Linked DNA regions of Homo sapiens: regions 1, 2, 3 and 5 are each linked to region 4. The links are contacts of gene promoters, found by promoter capture Hi-C in blood cells and fetal thymus (Javierre and others, 2016). All regions are on one chromosome and are shown on one strand. The core of a region is centred on a gene start or on the middle of the fragment in contact, and the rest is flanking DNA. Distances in the headings are between cores, read along the strand shown.

What was found. Contacts are between HindIII fragments. The CHiCAGO score rates a contact against its expected background, and 5 or more counts as called.
Region 1: a fragment that was not itself captured here is called in contact with the fragment with the promoter of LINC01475 in region 4 in 1 of 17 cell types (naive B cells); the score reaches 5.2 in naive B cells.
Region 2: a contact is called between a fragment that was not itself captured here and the fragment with the promoter of LINC01475 in region 4, in 1 of 17 cell types (total B cells). The highest score is 9.8, in total B cells.
Region 3: a fragment that was not itself captured here is called in contact with the fragment with the promoter of LINC01475 in region 4 in 4 of 17 cell types (erythroblasts, M1 macrophages, endothelial precursors and 1 more); the score reaches 9.7 in erythroblasts.
Region 5: a fragment that was not itself captured here is called in contact with the fragment with the promoter of LINC01475 in region 4 in 1 of 17 cell types (total B cells); the score reaches 9.6 in total B cells.

What each region holds. Positions count from the first base shown.
Region 1 is chr10:100,725,994-100,728,693 of GRCh38, forward strand. No RefSeq gene overlaps it. Among named protein-coding and RNA genes, the nearest start is that of PAX2, 18 kb to the right of the region's middle. The HindIII fragment of the contact is 4,114 bases long and covers 1-2,700 here.
Region 2 is chr10:100,742,665-100,745,364 of GRCh38, forward strand. It overlaps a transcript of PAX2 not described here. Among named protein-coding and RNA genes, the nearest start is that of PAX2, 1.6 kb to the right of the region's middle. RefSeq lists an enhancer at 1,960-2,009. The HindIII fragment of the contact is 334 bases long and covers 1,276-1,609 here.
Region 3 is chr10:98,460,550-98,463,249 of GRCh38, forward strand. All of the region lies in intron 11 of HPSE2 (heparanase 2 (inactive)), which reads right to left. Among named protein-coding and RNA genes, the nearest start is that of HPS1, 15 kb to the left of the region's middle. The HindIII fragment of the contact is 1,920 bases long and covers 361-2,280 here.
Region 4 is chr10:99,529,875-99,532,574 of GRCh38, forward strand. It overlaps LINC01475 (long intergenic non-protein coding RNA 1475), which reads right to left and starts at 1,303. Exons shown (of 5, transcript NR_120618.1): 1 at 1,138-1,303. RefSeq lists an enhancer at 2,398-2,700. The HindIII fragment of the contact is 4,428 bases long and covers 1-2,597 here.
Region 5 is chr10:101,234,869-101,237,568 of GRCh38, forward strand. The region is part of intron 2 of LBX1-AS1 (LBX1 antisense RNA 1); the gene reads left to right. Among named protein-coding and RNA genes, the nearest start is that of LBX1-AS1, 6.6 kb to the left of the region's middle. RefSeq lists an enhancer at 1,170-2,092. The HindIII fragment of the contact is 3,789 bases long and covers 1-2,700 here.

The DNA.
Region 1 (2,700 bases), core at 71-2,570, 1.2 Mb after region 4:
CTTCTGAGGCTGGCCACAGTGCCTGTTGTGTGGACACAGGAGCTTGTAGACAGGATGGGCTCATGGGCAGGGTCCTCTGTGCTCTGCAGTTCCCAGGGACCTTGGCCAGTCTCATGGAGGATCTGTATGGGACAACCCAGGTCAGGCCTGCATGTGGCCCATCAGGATCTGTCTAGGGAATTCTTGCTGTGGCTGGTGTTGAGGATCAGGGCCCACTTAGGCCTGATCAGAGGCTAAGCCCAGCTGGGACAGGGCATGGAGAGGAGACACCCATAGTGACGCTGCAGGCCTGGAAGCTGGGAGGGCCTGAGGGCATCTTGGAGAGGGGCAAGGCCTGACTGGGAAAAATCAATCTCTCAACACAAAAAACACTTCTTGGGGTGGGGGCCCTAGAGCTTCCTGAAGGGCTGAGTGAGGGCTGGGAGGCCCTGCAGCCTCACAGTCTTGGCTAGTCTGCCTGCAGCAGTCAGATCTGAGTTATCTGATTTAGAGGCCCTGGGCAGAGAAAATAGCAGAGTATGGAGGGAGTGAAAGAGGACTGGCATGAGGATCTGGAAGGCAGGGGGTGGGGGGCTCCTGTGTTTCACCAACTGATGTCCTTAAAGAGTCCTCTCAGCCAGACAAAATGGTTTCTTGCCCTCTGACTTCTCTCTGGGGACTAGGAGTATCTAATATAGCATATGCTTAAAGAGTGTAGGTTAGGGAGGCAGTAGGTGGCAAAGGTAGGATCTGAACCTAACCTTTGCCACCTACTCACTGTGTGATTGTGGGTAAGCTACTGAAGCTCTCTGTGCCTCAGTTTTCCCATCTGTAAAATGGGATTCATGACAGTAGGTGAGAGTTAAAGGAATTACTATATATAAAGTCCTCAGAACAATATCTGACATGCGGTCAGCCCTCAGACATGTTAGTTGTTTTGTTGTTATTATCATTAACCTTGTTCCAGTGGAGTACAAGGCCTTTCCTCTTGTTGACAACTTTTCCAGAGCATCATTACATTACTGCTCTTTGTACCCCTGACACCCTGTACCTGTGCAGGAGACAAAGCTCAATCAATGCATGAAGAAGTCCAAGGCTTGGGTGGGGGTAGGGAATGAAATAACATGATGAAATGTGTTATTTAAATGTGCCAGGAATATAAAAACTTACTTAACCTGACCAACAATTTTTTTTTTTTTTTTTTGGCTGGAGTGCAGTGGCGGGATCTCGGCTCACTGCAAGCTCCGCCTCCCGGGTTCATGCCATTCTCCTGCCTCAGCCTCCCAAGTAGCTGGGACTACAGGCGCCCGCCACTACGCCCGGCTAATTTTTTGTATTTTTAGTAGAGACGGGGTTTCACCGTTTTAGCCGGGATGGTCTCGATCTCCTGACCTCGTGATTCGCCCGCCTCGGCCTCCCAAAGTGCTGGGATTACAGGCGTGAGCCACCACGCCCGGCCAACAATTCTATAAAGCAGAAATTCTTGTCCCCATTTTACAGACGTGAACACTTAGGCAGAGTGAGTTCAAGGGATTTGCCCAAGGTCACATAGCTGGTACATTTCAGATCTGAGAAAGGTGGAGTCCACCTCCAGACTGCTGACTCCATCTTCTACCCTTGGGTGCTGCTTTCTCAGATGTCTTGGGATTAGTGAGAAGTTATCATCTTCTATAGTGTGCATTGTTCTATGAGACTGCCCGGTAAAGGGTGCATGAGGTTGGGAGAAAAACCCATTTGTCAAGTGAGACAGGACATGTGGGTTTCCACTTCACAACCACTACAGGTGAGGATTTGCAAGGGAAGAGAGTTGGAGGGTACAGGGGAGGAATCAGAATTGAGATGAAATTCACCCAGAAACCTAGGTTGACCTTAATTTAGCATCTCACCCTGCAACACACATACACACACACAAAATCTGTGACCATCTTGTTTCTGCCTCTCTCATCTAATGCTTCTGTATCCCTTAGACTTTTTTGAGGCCTCACATCTTCTTTTGCAGACCACTCACTCAGTCTCTGATGCTCTCTCTACCTACAGCTCATTGTCCATAGAGTCCCCTCCAAATCAGATCTTTTCATTCCTCTGTTGAAAAAATCTCCCAGGCAAGGCATAGTGGGTCACTCCTGTAATCTCTGCTTTGGGAGGCCAAGGTGAGAGAATTGCTTGCCTTCAGGAGTTCAAAGCCAGCCTGGGCAACATAGCAAGACCTCATCTCTACAAAACATTAAAAAATTAGCCAGGTGTGGTGGCATGTACCTGTAGTTCTAACTACCCGGGAGGCTGAGGTGGGAGGGTTGCTTGAGCCTGGAAGGTTGGGGATGCGAGGAGCTGTGATAGTGCCACTGCACTTGGCCTGGGTGACAAAGTGAGACCCTGTCTCAAAAACAAAAACAAAACAAAGCAAGCAAACAAACAAAAAATCTCTCAATTGCATCCATGACCTAAAGGAGAAAAGCAAATCCTTAGCAAAAGTTCTCCTTGCTCTAGGCCTTGCCAACCTCCCAGCCTTATTTCCCTTACTTGACCCATATATTGGCTTCACAGAATCCTTTTTGCTTCCCCAGCTAGGTAGGCTGTTGCCCCCTCCCCATGCCTTTATCTTGATGCTCCTTCTGCCTAGGAATATTTCACCTGCTTAGCTCCTGCATTTAGTGGACATCTACTGATCTTGCAAAACCCCATTCCCTTTATGAAGTGTTCCCTGACACTCCCAATTACCTT
Region 2 (2,700 bases), core at 193-2,692, 1.2 Mb after region 4:
TGTAAATGCCCCTAGGTTGGGGGGTGGAAGGGCCGCTTTGAAAACACCAGAGAGAAAAGGTTCATTTAGAGGCGGACGGGAAAAGCAACCAACCCTGACAGGTCGGAGCCCGGGTAGTGTTTGGGGTTGGGTTGTTTTCTTTCTTTCTCTTTCTTTTCCCCTTTCCTCTTCTTTCTTCCTTTTTTTTTTTTTTTTTTTTTTTTTTTTTTTTTTTTTTTGCTTTCTTGCTTCCCCCCACCCCTCTACTAGACTGTATAGAAGAAAGAGAACAGAAAAGGGGGAGTCAGAGGAGCGGCCAGTGACTGGATGAAGGCCAGCCCTTCATCCTGGAGCCCCAGGAGAAGGCAGAGCTTTGGAGAAAAGGGGTTCCTAATCTCCAGGGAGCATTACTCTTTGACTCTCTAGACCCAGGAATGGGCTGGAGCTAATGGGGAAGCGGCCAGGAGCCGGCCTGGCGGAAGAGTGAGTGTCCAGCTAGTGCAGTGCTGGGGAGACGATCCCAGGAGCAGGGGGGACTCTCAGGGGCTACCTGGGAATGGGACTATCAGAAGGGTCTTTACTCCTCAGAAGGTGCATGTGAAGGACAGGTGTGTGAGGACAACTTCCAGCACACTTGGCGCATTAAGTCCCCTTCTCTACAAAATGGAAAATCCTTCTCGCCCAACATGTGAAAATGCTTGTTGTGGGCACCCACATTTCATGGTACTTGTAACATAGGGACATGTCTAGCTGGTTCTAGAAAAATCTGTGTCTGTGTGGAAGGGGGGGGGTTTACTCACAGCTTTCTTCCTTCAATAGTTCACACACCCCGAGACAAATTCCTGGATGACCAACTTGGAGAGACCTGGGGCAAAGGTTACTTTAGTTCTGAGCTCCTCTAAATAAGGACCCTTTCTCAACGTTCCTTTCACCCCAGTTCTGGGTTAATTACTTCCCAGAGGGGAAAGCCAAGGCTGTGCTAGCTAATACCACCTGAGATCCCTTGCACTCTGGCCTGGGAGCTGTTACTTTTCGGCTGCCCGAACTGTTTTCCTTCTTCGGTCCCTACACGAAGTTAGTGCGTGTTCGTGGGGTTGTGAGGCCAAAGCAAACCCGGGAGCGCCATCTGCAGGCCTCAAGAGGAAGAGACTGACCTTAGAGGCTAGGCCCTGCGTCTTCAACCTCTAGCCCAAGGGAACCAACCTGCCTAGCCACCCAAGGGAAGTGGGATAGGGGCTGGGAGGGGCAGGCGGTGAGGAGTGTTTTCCTCCCAGACTTTACCCCGCAGGTGGATTAAGCTTATTGGGCTCTGGAGGATACAGGAGGGAGGGCAAATGCCAGGATCCCAGCGGACCCAGGCCCCACAGGAGTGAGAGGCTCAGAACCTCGTCCCGCTGAGCCTGGCCTGAGCTCCTCCTGAGGAATAAGGGCATCCCAAAAACCCGGGTACAAGACGCCCAGTAGTAGTAGTTAGGCTGAGTCAGGCAGGTGCATCTCTCCCCATGGTATCTGCCGCCCAGGCTCCGGCCAGAGGGAGGGGAGCGCGAGTCCGCCGCGCTTCCGCGGGGCGCCCGGAGCTGCAGACGGGGGCTGGAGGAATCTCGGATTCGGGCTGCAAGAGCGCTGCGCAAGCTTCGCCGAGCCGCCCTTTCGCAGACCCAGGGAAGCGGGGGGAGGGAGCGAAGGAGGGAGAGAGAGTTAAAACATCAGCTGAAGTGCCAAGATGATTTATGAGACGAGGGAAAATATTTCATGAAGATCTCCCGGATATTCTGTACTTAACCAGTTAGGAGACAAAGGGCTTCTTCTGCCTGGTGCGTGCGAGCGGACCCCAGCGAGCAAGGGAGCTAGTGCCAGAGAGAGCTGCGGAGGCTCCGGCAGGAGTGGGGACGTCCCCGTGGTTGCGCCTCCTGCGCTCGCCCCGGATCCACCGAGCTAGCAGCGGGCGGCGCTCAGCCGCGTCCGCAGCCTCCTCTTCTCCCCAGCCGGGGAGAGCCAGCCTCGTCTCCCACATCCTCTGCCGCCAGCGACCTGCAGCTCCGCACTGTTTCCCTCCCCTGTACCCCCTTCCCAGTCACCCGAGGGTTCAGAAACCAAGTCCCCCGGCTCTCCCGCCATCCGCTGGGTCCCACCGAGGCAGGTGGGTACTCGCCGGAGGTCTTCAGCTCGATTCTGAACCAAGCGTTCTGGACTGCCCAGACCCGGTGGGCAAGGGGACTGGGGAGGCCCTGCGCACAGTCGCGTGGAACGGGAGGGGACAAGACAAACTGCTGGACACTTTTCCGTGGAATGAGAAGTGGGGGGTGCGTGGGTGGGAAGGTACCTCCGGAGGGAAAGGCCAAAGGGAAGGACCAGAAAGAGAGGAAGGAAGAGCCGGGAAGGAACGGAAGGGAACTCAGAGCCGAGGGTGGTGGGGTTGGGGCTAGGGATGCGCACTGGGCCCGGGGCCGCGCGGCCCAGGCGGGCACTGGCCAGTGGATGGCAGGGCTGGGCGAGTTAGAACTGAGAGCCCGGCTTCACAGCGCAGCGCGCTCCGAGGCCCTCTGTCGTTACCTGAATATTCATTAGACTGACCGCTCTTTATCCTTATCTAGCGTTTATCTTATCGGCGAGTTTCGTTTCTCAGTGTAGTTTTAATCCCGGGCTCCCATTCCCCCTCCCCCGGTCCGCTCCCCTCCCTCCCTCTTCCTTCGCCGGCTGCTCCCTCCCTCCCTCCCTCCC
Region 3 (2,700 bases), core at 71-2,570, 1.1 Mb before region 4:
CTGCAGTGAGCCAAGATTACACCACTATACTCCATCCTGGGTGACAGAGAAACTCTGTCCCTAAAAAAAACAAAAAATGAGTTTTCATATTTAATATTAACAGATGTTTCCATTTAGCAAAACAGCAAAGTAAGTGATAAAGTAGGCATTTGTGATCACAATTCATCTATCTTGCTTTTATCCTTTCTGTATAGCCAGCCACTTTCACCCTGAGAAGGGGGACTACATACATAGCAAACTTAGAAAAGAGAAACAGCTCATCTTATGCTGGATAGAGGGAAATGCCACCTATCCTTGACCTATGGTACCAGAATCCAGATAATGTTCCAGCTGTTCCTGACAGCCATGCACCCAGGTGGAAGCTTAGTTTTATGGGTCAGCAGAAAAGGCCAGAAACAGGCCACCAGCTGGAAATAAGGTTGTGAGTCACCCTCAGAAAATCAACATTGCATAGTGATGACTGTTTCTGGGCCTTGCCCAACCTCCAGTGTGATAACATTGCCGTGACATCATCTGAGCTGTAAAGAGAATAGAATGTTATAAATTGATATAGAGGTCTTTGTTTAGTGTTCCTTCTGTGCTATGAATGATAGACTGCTTTAGAGAGAGATAATCAGACCCATGCCCAATAGAGCAGTGAATTCCCAGAGATAAGTGTGTTGTAAATTGCTCCCAATGGAGAGCTAGGCAGAGAAGAGATCCAGGCCTGGCCCCACATGGGTAAGTTTGGGCTAGGTCCAGATCTGATAGGCCAGAGGGAGCAGGCCCCCTCCCTTTGCTAGAATGACTGAGTGAATAAGTGAGTAGGAGGCTTCTATATGGAGAGCGAGGCCTGCCTCTGGAAGGCATGGGGTGGGAGAATTGAGATCTGAAGGTCAGTGTTGACCGCATCAGATATGCAAGGAGCTTTTGCTTCCAAATATGAGAAGTGACCCTCTGTAGTGAAGACAGCCTACTCATTGGAGTGGAAGGCAGGGTGAGGAGAGTGGTTCAGTTACAAAAGAAGCCCAGATGGGTCTTCACAGTGTATTTTCATTATTTTGTTTCAGGTGCTATGAATATCTATCACCCAGATATAAGCACAGTCAAACACGAGTTCAATAATACCGATTAATCTTTCTAAGGCATACTCAAATTTATATCAGGTCTCTGCTAGAAAACCTTCAATGGTTTCTCCCATATACAGAATTAGGTGCAAACCTTTCTTCTGAAGAATTAGGTAATGCCCTTTTAGATTCAGATGATCCCACAGTATTGACATCTTTGGGTTCTGGGGAGTGCAAAACAACGTGTGATTAGCAAACCTTTAAAAATCTATACTAATAAGGAGTAGTTGTCCTGGAACAGGCCCTATTCTGGTTTCTTTATTGGTTGGTTAAAAAGCTAAGAGTAGAACCAGGAAGCATGGTGAAGATTCTCTACTGAAATCTCGAATTCCAGGAGCCAAGTTGCTAACTAGCTAGATGGCTTTGGCAAATCCCCTAACCTCACTGCCCTGTAGCTTTTGCATCTGTAAGAACGTTATATAGGCACCAAAGAAATGAAATAAGAAATATGAAAGTGCTTTGAAAGCATAATGAACCATATACTTAAGATATGGTGTTTTTGTTGTTGTTGTTCTTTTTATTTTTATTTATTTATTTTTTTGAGATGGAGTCTCGATCTGTTGCCCAGGCTGCAGTGCAGTGGTGCATTCTTGGCTCACTGCAACCTCTGCCTCCTGGGTTCAAATGATTCTCCTGCCTCATCCTCCCGAGTAGCTGGGACTACAGGCATGTGCCACCACACCTGGCTAATTTTCGTATTTTTAGTAGAGACGGGGTTTCACCATGTTGGCCAGGCTGGTCTCGAACTCCTGACCTCAAGCGATCCACCTGCCTTGGCCTCCCAAAATGCTGGGATTACAGGCATGAGCCACCGTGTCTGACCTGTTGTTGCTATTGTTTTTAATGTCACTGTGGACAGATGCACTTGTTGGTCCTTATCATACCTGACTGCTCTGTGGTACTCACATTTTCAGGTCTCCATTCTCAAAACCCTCTCTCCCCTTGGCTCCCATGATATTTCTCTCTGTTTTCCTCCATTTCTGGATGGCGTTTTGTTTTCGTTTTTGTTTTTGTTTTTTTGAGAGGGAGCCATTCCCCTCTGCCTGCTTCTCAGATGCTAGGGTTCCTAGTGTTTTGTCCCTGGACTCTTCTGTCCCCACACTCTGCACTCCTCCCAGGTTGCTGCTGCTCTCACCCTTGACTTCGGTCACTATCCACAAGCTGATGCTCCCTAAGCTTGTATCTCTACCCTACCTACATTCTTTCTATGAACTTCTGTATCTCCACTTGGCTGTCCACAGGAATTTCAAAGTCACTAGGTCCAAATTCAAAATCTTCTCCTCAAACTCTGTCCTTATCTCTGCTTTTTTTTTTTTTTTATCTTTGTGATGGTACCGCCATTTATCCAATTACTGTACCCAGAAAGCTTGGAGTCTTCTGAGACTTCTCCCCCAATTCCCTTGTGTAGGGTAGCCAAGTCAAAATAATTCGACCTTATAGTGTTTTTCAAATCTGCTCCTTTTCCTCCATCCACTGCTATCTTTTTAGTTCAGAACTTGCCTCCTAACCTATCTCTGTGCCACATTGCTGACAGTTATCTGTTGTCACTGCACCGCTTCAAACTTGCCAACACTCCCCTTCCCTTACACTTTAT
Region 4 (2,700 bases), core at 53-2,552:
AGAATGCAAATGCCCCAGAAGGCGATGGTAACTGGATAGGCGTTGGAACCAGATCCCACTCTGATAAGAGACTCCTGCGGAGCGACTGCTGCTGTACAACTACGGCTCTCGAGTTCTCCTCCTTTCAGGCCCGCGGCCGTCGAGGGTACAGGCTGCGCGCGCGGGAAAAGGAGGCCACCTAGATGAGATTGGCCTGGCGGGGATCCCTGCGGGGAAGCACGCCACTGGGGAACCAGACCAAGGGAGTCTGAACAATACTGAGGGGGTAGCTGGAGACAACCCAAACTCCTGCTCTGGGCATAAAACTCAGATCAACCTTAGGGATGCGGTAGCGGATAGAGGTTTTCCGCAGGCTGGAACAGCACTACACTGGGCTGGGTATGAGGAAAGGAAGCGGCGATAAGGTCTAGGCGCCGCCCGCTAGGCCCCTTCGCCTGGAAGTCCTCACAGGCCCTGGTGGCCTACTGAGGAGCAACCTGCCCAGGGTCCTCAAGAGACAACCGCTTAGGCCTGGCGCAAGGTACCTGGCCCGGGAGCGGCTGGGGCGGCGGAATTTGGGGTAGAGGGGCACCCGTGGGCCGGCTGGTGGGGAGGAGACAGCCCCCTGCATGAGCTCACAGAGGCGCCCTGGTGGGCTCCGGCGGCTGCAGAGCGTCTGTGGGCGTGTATTGGCGATCAGGCGCTGGAGGGGCGCTTTGTCCTGGTCGCAGTTTTAAGACCTGGATTGTTGGGCTAGATTTATGAAAGGCCTAGGAGCGAAGCGAGATGGGAAGCAAGGGAATGTAACAAGGAGAAATGCAGGCTTCGGTTGGAAACTGGGGAGAGAGAGATTGTTTCGATAGCCTTTCTCCTTTTCTTTTTCCAGAATCATGAAATCACCGAGGAGAAGAAAACTGGGGACTAGAAGAGAGCAGAAACATTTCCCCTGAGACAGTTTTGCCCCGGAGGTGGGGTGGGGAAGTGGCGCTGGAGCTCAGCTTCCTGCTTTTATGCTCGGCGGCCACCGTGATGCACACACACTCGAGGTCCGCCACCCCGCAGTGCCGTGCACCCCTCTGCCCCCACCTCGGAATTTTTGTGCCCGAGCGCTCGGGATCCACGGCAAAACCAGGCACATTCCTCCCTCTGCAGACTCACCGCCTGGTTTGTAGACACTGGTCTCCGCCTGGGGCGTCAATAGTTTCAGGATTTAAAGCAGAAAGACACCGGGCGCCCCTGTGGCTGAGGAATGGCGGTTCCAGCACAAGACCCTGCCCACAGAGGGTCTCTCCCTACTGCCTGCGGGCCGCCGCTACCCTAAGTACTCCGGGGCGCACGTGGCCCGCGCGGCATCCCAGCTCCCCGGGCGGACCCAGGGGCTGCCTCTCCACAACAGTTCCGCTCCCTTCTGCAGAGCCCCGCCTCTCCCACCTCCCGACAGGCTGTTCTTTCTCCCTTCAACCTTGGGCACCCACTCCTGTCGCCGTTGCGGGACCCGCGTGGCAGCCCTCCACCCTCGTACCCACTCCCAGCCGGTGTCTTATGCCGCTCGGAGGCAATGTCCACCGTCCCTGCACCTTTCACCTGCCCCTTCCAGGTGAGACGGGTCTCTTTCAGCTCCGCCATCCTGACCGCCAAAAAATGCTTGGATTGGCTGGGGCCGGATGAGGACAGCCACGGTTGAGCTGGAACCGTTCCCTATTTTTTTAAGGCCAGCGCTGCACACGGGTCTTTCTGTGGCCCTCAAAGCAGCGCCCGCTGCTCCTCACTGGGCTAGGCCTGGTAGCGAGCAAATGCCTATTGTGGGAGAAGATGGTCCCAGAGTTTCCAGCTCAGAGTTTCCAGAATCTGTGGGGGACTGTATAGACTCCCCCAGAAAACAACCAGGGCCTCATGAAGGTGCCAGAAGGCGTGTAGGTAGAGAAATTTTAAAAGCCTGTCGGAGAGGCAAGGCCTACATTCAGGCTCCTGATTTCAATAGGTGGAAAAGAAGGCTGCCAAGGCTGGGTCACCTCCCTTGTGAGGACAGATCCTGCTCTCAGTATGTGCCACACTCCAGCCACGCACCACCAATGCAGTCAACAAACACTGCTTGACCTCCCATACAGAAAAGCAGTCGTTGACACGTACTGAGCGCTTAACACGCGTGAGGCCGTGCACTAAGATTCTGGCATGTTTTGCCTCATTCAACCCTAGCAACAACCAAAAAAGGTATTACTGCCTTCGTTTTATAGACGAGAAAACAGACTTAGAAACGCCGAAGATCACACACTGACTAGGCCAAGCAAGAGCTGTCGAATACCAAAGTTTAGTCATAACTCTATCTTCCTTTCACATACTGCTCTGTGCGGCTGCTGCCAGGGATACAAGGGCAAAAGCAACCCCGGGACACTGCCCTCATGGAGCTTACAGTCTAACTGGGGCGACCAGGCAGGCACATACAGCTATAGAATTAAGTGGGAAGTGATAAGTGACATGCATGTCCTTTGCTAACACAAGCTGCAGGTTCAGAGCCTGAAAGAGGGGACTTCCGGCTAGACGATCTAGGAGCTCTTCCTTGGAGAACAGTTTCCACTCGTGGAGGCTAAGTGTCAGAAACATGTTCCAAGTGGAGAGAAAGCTTGAGCAAAGGCAACAAGTTGAAAAAGGACATGTCGCCCACCCATAGATAGATAAAACACTGCATCTCCTCGTGGATCCAGCGCCCAGTATTTACCCGCC
Region 5 (2,700 bases), core at 195-2,694, 1.7 Mb after region 4:
CAATATACTCAGAGGGGCCCAGAAGCCTCATTCTCTAATGCTTTTTGGCTATGGAGTGAGTTTCCTGGGTTGTGGACCCAGCTGTGGTGGTGTGGTCTGACTTAGTAATGAACTTCCTTCATTTGCTTTTTTTGTTTGTTTTTGAGATGAGGTCTCACTATGTCACCCAGGATGGAGTGCAGTAGCACAATCTGGGCTCACTGCAGCCTCGACCTGCTAGGCTCAAGTGATCCTCCCACCTCAGCCTCCCAAGTAGCTGGGACCAAAGGAGCATGCCACCAAGCCCAGCTAATTTTTGTATTTTTTGTAGGGATGGAGTTTCATGATGTTGCCCAGGCTGGATTTTTTTTTAAATAGGATTAAGGCCGGGCGCAGTGGCTGGGCCTGTAATCCCAGCACTTTGGGAGGTCGAAGAGGGCAGATCACTTGAGGTCAGCAGTTTGAGACCAGCCTGGTGAACATGGTGAAACCCTGTTTCTACTAAAAATACAAAAATTAGCCGGGTGTTATGGTATGCTCCTGTAGTCCCAGCTTCTCGGAGGTTGAGGCAGGAGAACTGCTTGAACCTGGGAGTTGGAGGTTGCAGTGAGCCGAGATCGCACCACTGCACTTTAGCCTGGGTGACAGAGCAAGACGCTGTCAAAAAAAAAAAAAAAAAAAAAAAAAGAAAGAAAGAAAGAAAAGAAAAGGAAAGGAAAGAAAGAAAATAGGATTGACCCCCCCATCATTCGTTGGGCCCAGAAGCAGAGAGGAAGAATGGACAGAAGATGGGAGGTGATGGGCAGGCAGGAGTGGCAGGAAACAGACACCCACACGCCACTCCAGTAGCCCAGGGGTCTGTGAAGAGGATAAAGGAACCTAAGTGAGCATGTGTGTGTGTGTTGGGGGGGGGGGCGCGGTGTGGGGGGAGAGTCTGGTTCTGTTCCTGATGGAGGTGGCATTTGAGTTGAACTTTGTAAAACCAGGAGCATGTAAATAGGTGCAGGAGCAGGGACCATCCTGGAGGCAAAGGGAACAGCCGAGCACAAGCCCGAAGATGCCACCCTAAGAGAGGTTCCAGAGTTCCCTATAGCTCCTCCCTCTGTTGTCCTGGCGGTGAGCTACTGGGTAAGGGTGAAACCCTTAGTCTCTTGTTTATCGGCAGCAGGTCTGCAGCCTAGAGCCAGGGGCTGCTGGACTCCTGGGATGGCTATTTACTTATTTATGGGGTGGGGTGAGGGGTGGGGATGGGATGAGAGAGGCTGCTTTCCTGGGCCTACAATTGGAGTTCCCTTCTCCTTGCCATCCCCAGAAACTCCAAGAGCTGACCCTCTGTCTTACTAACTCAAACGGCCCAGAAACATCAAAGTCTGACCAAAAACCGTTAATGGTAGTCAGCTCCCTCCCTTTCACAGAGGTCTCACTACTGTCGGGGGGCGCCGGGCGCAGGCCGGGCATGGGGCCTGAGCTTAGGCCAGGTGGAAAGGTGGAAGGACCTAGTGGGGACAGACGAAGAGACCGAGGAGCCGCCCGCCCGGCTAAATGGACACAGGAAAGGCCTGAGTCAGGCTTCTCATAATAAATAAACTGCACGTGAATAATTCAGCAGTCGCGCGGGGGCCGGTTGCATCAGCGCCGCCGCCGCCGCGCGGCGCCCAATTCCCCGCGGAGGGGAGTAGCCAATTAAGGCACTTGAAAAGGGAGTCGGGTGGAAGATCCCCCGCCCACCAGTATCCTGGATTTACCCAGGTCGAGTTCAGAGAGCCTCCCCGGTCCCAACCCCCTCGGGCCCCATGGGTCAGGGGGCCGCCTGCTGGGAAGTGCTACCTCAGCTAAGCCGCTCAGGTGTCCCGAGACTCCGGGCAAGGGAAGACAGGCGGCGAGACGGAGCCAGAATAAGGGATGCGGACGTCTGACCTGTGGAAAACCCAGCATCTGCAGTGCCCAGCCGCACAGGGAACGTGGGCGGCGTGGTTCCAAGCACAGTGAAGACGCCAGGCTCGGATCTGTGCTCAGAGCCGGGATCCCTCCGGGCTGCTTCGTCCTGGCCAGGACTTTCCTTGCCCTGAAGTGAGGCGCCAGGGAAGCTGCAGGGCCCTCCGCCCTCTCTGAACTCCCACGTACTTGGGCCTCTCCCAGCCTTTCTTGGACCTGTGGAAGCAATTCCTGCAGGACCAGACTCCCCTGTCTCCCCGCGGCCCCCTAGGTACACTCCGTAACTTCCGAAACCTTATTTCGTTTGAGCGAAACCCGGCCCCTTTGGCTCTTCCCACTTCCCACAAGTCCCTGGGTTCCCGATCCTGAGGGATTGCATTCATCCCATCTCACACCCACCAACGCTCAATCCCTCCAGTTCCTCCCCAGCCCCTTCACTTCCATTAATTAGGTCGACTCCCTTCCTTCGCCGCTCCCTCCTGTCCCCACTCAGCCTCCCTACACCTATGCGGCGAGCCTCGGGCCAAGACCTCCGCCCTGGCTCCGCCAGTCCTGCGGGGGCCGGCATGCACCAGACCTCAAAAGGGATCTTCACGGGAATTCCGCATAGCCAGATCCCAAGCCTCCAGGGAGGCCACCAGCCCTCCCCCATCTTCTTCTTCCTCCTCCGTCTCCTTTCCTCTTCCCTCCGCCTCTACGTATTTCTTTCTATTCGTTTCTTTTCGTTTGGTGAGGTGCCACCCGCCACAGCCCTGTCCCCTAGGGAGAGGCCTGGACTAACTTTGC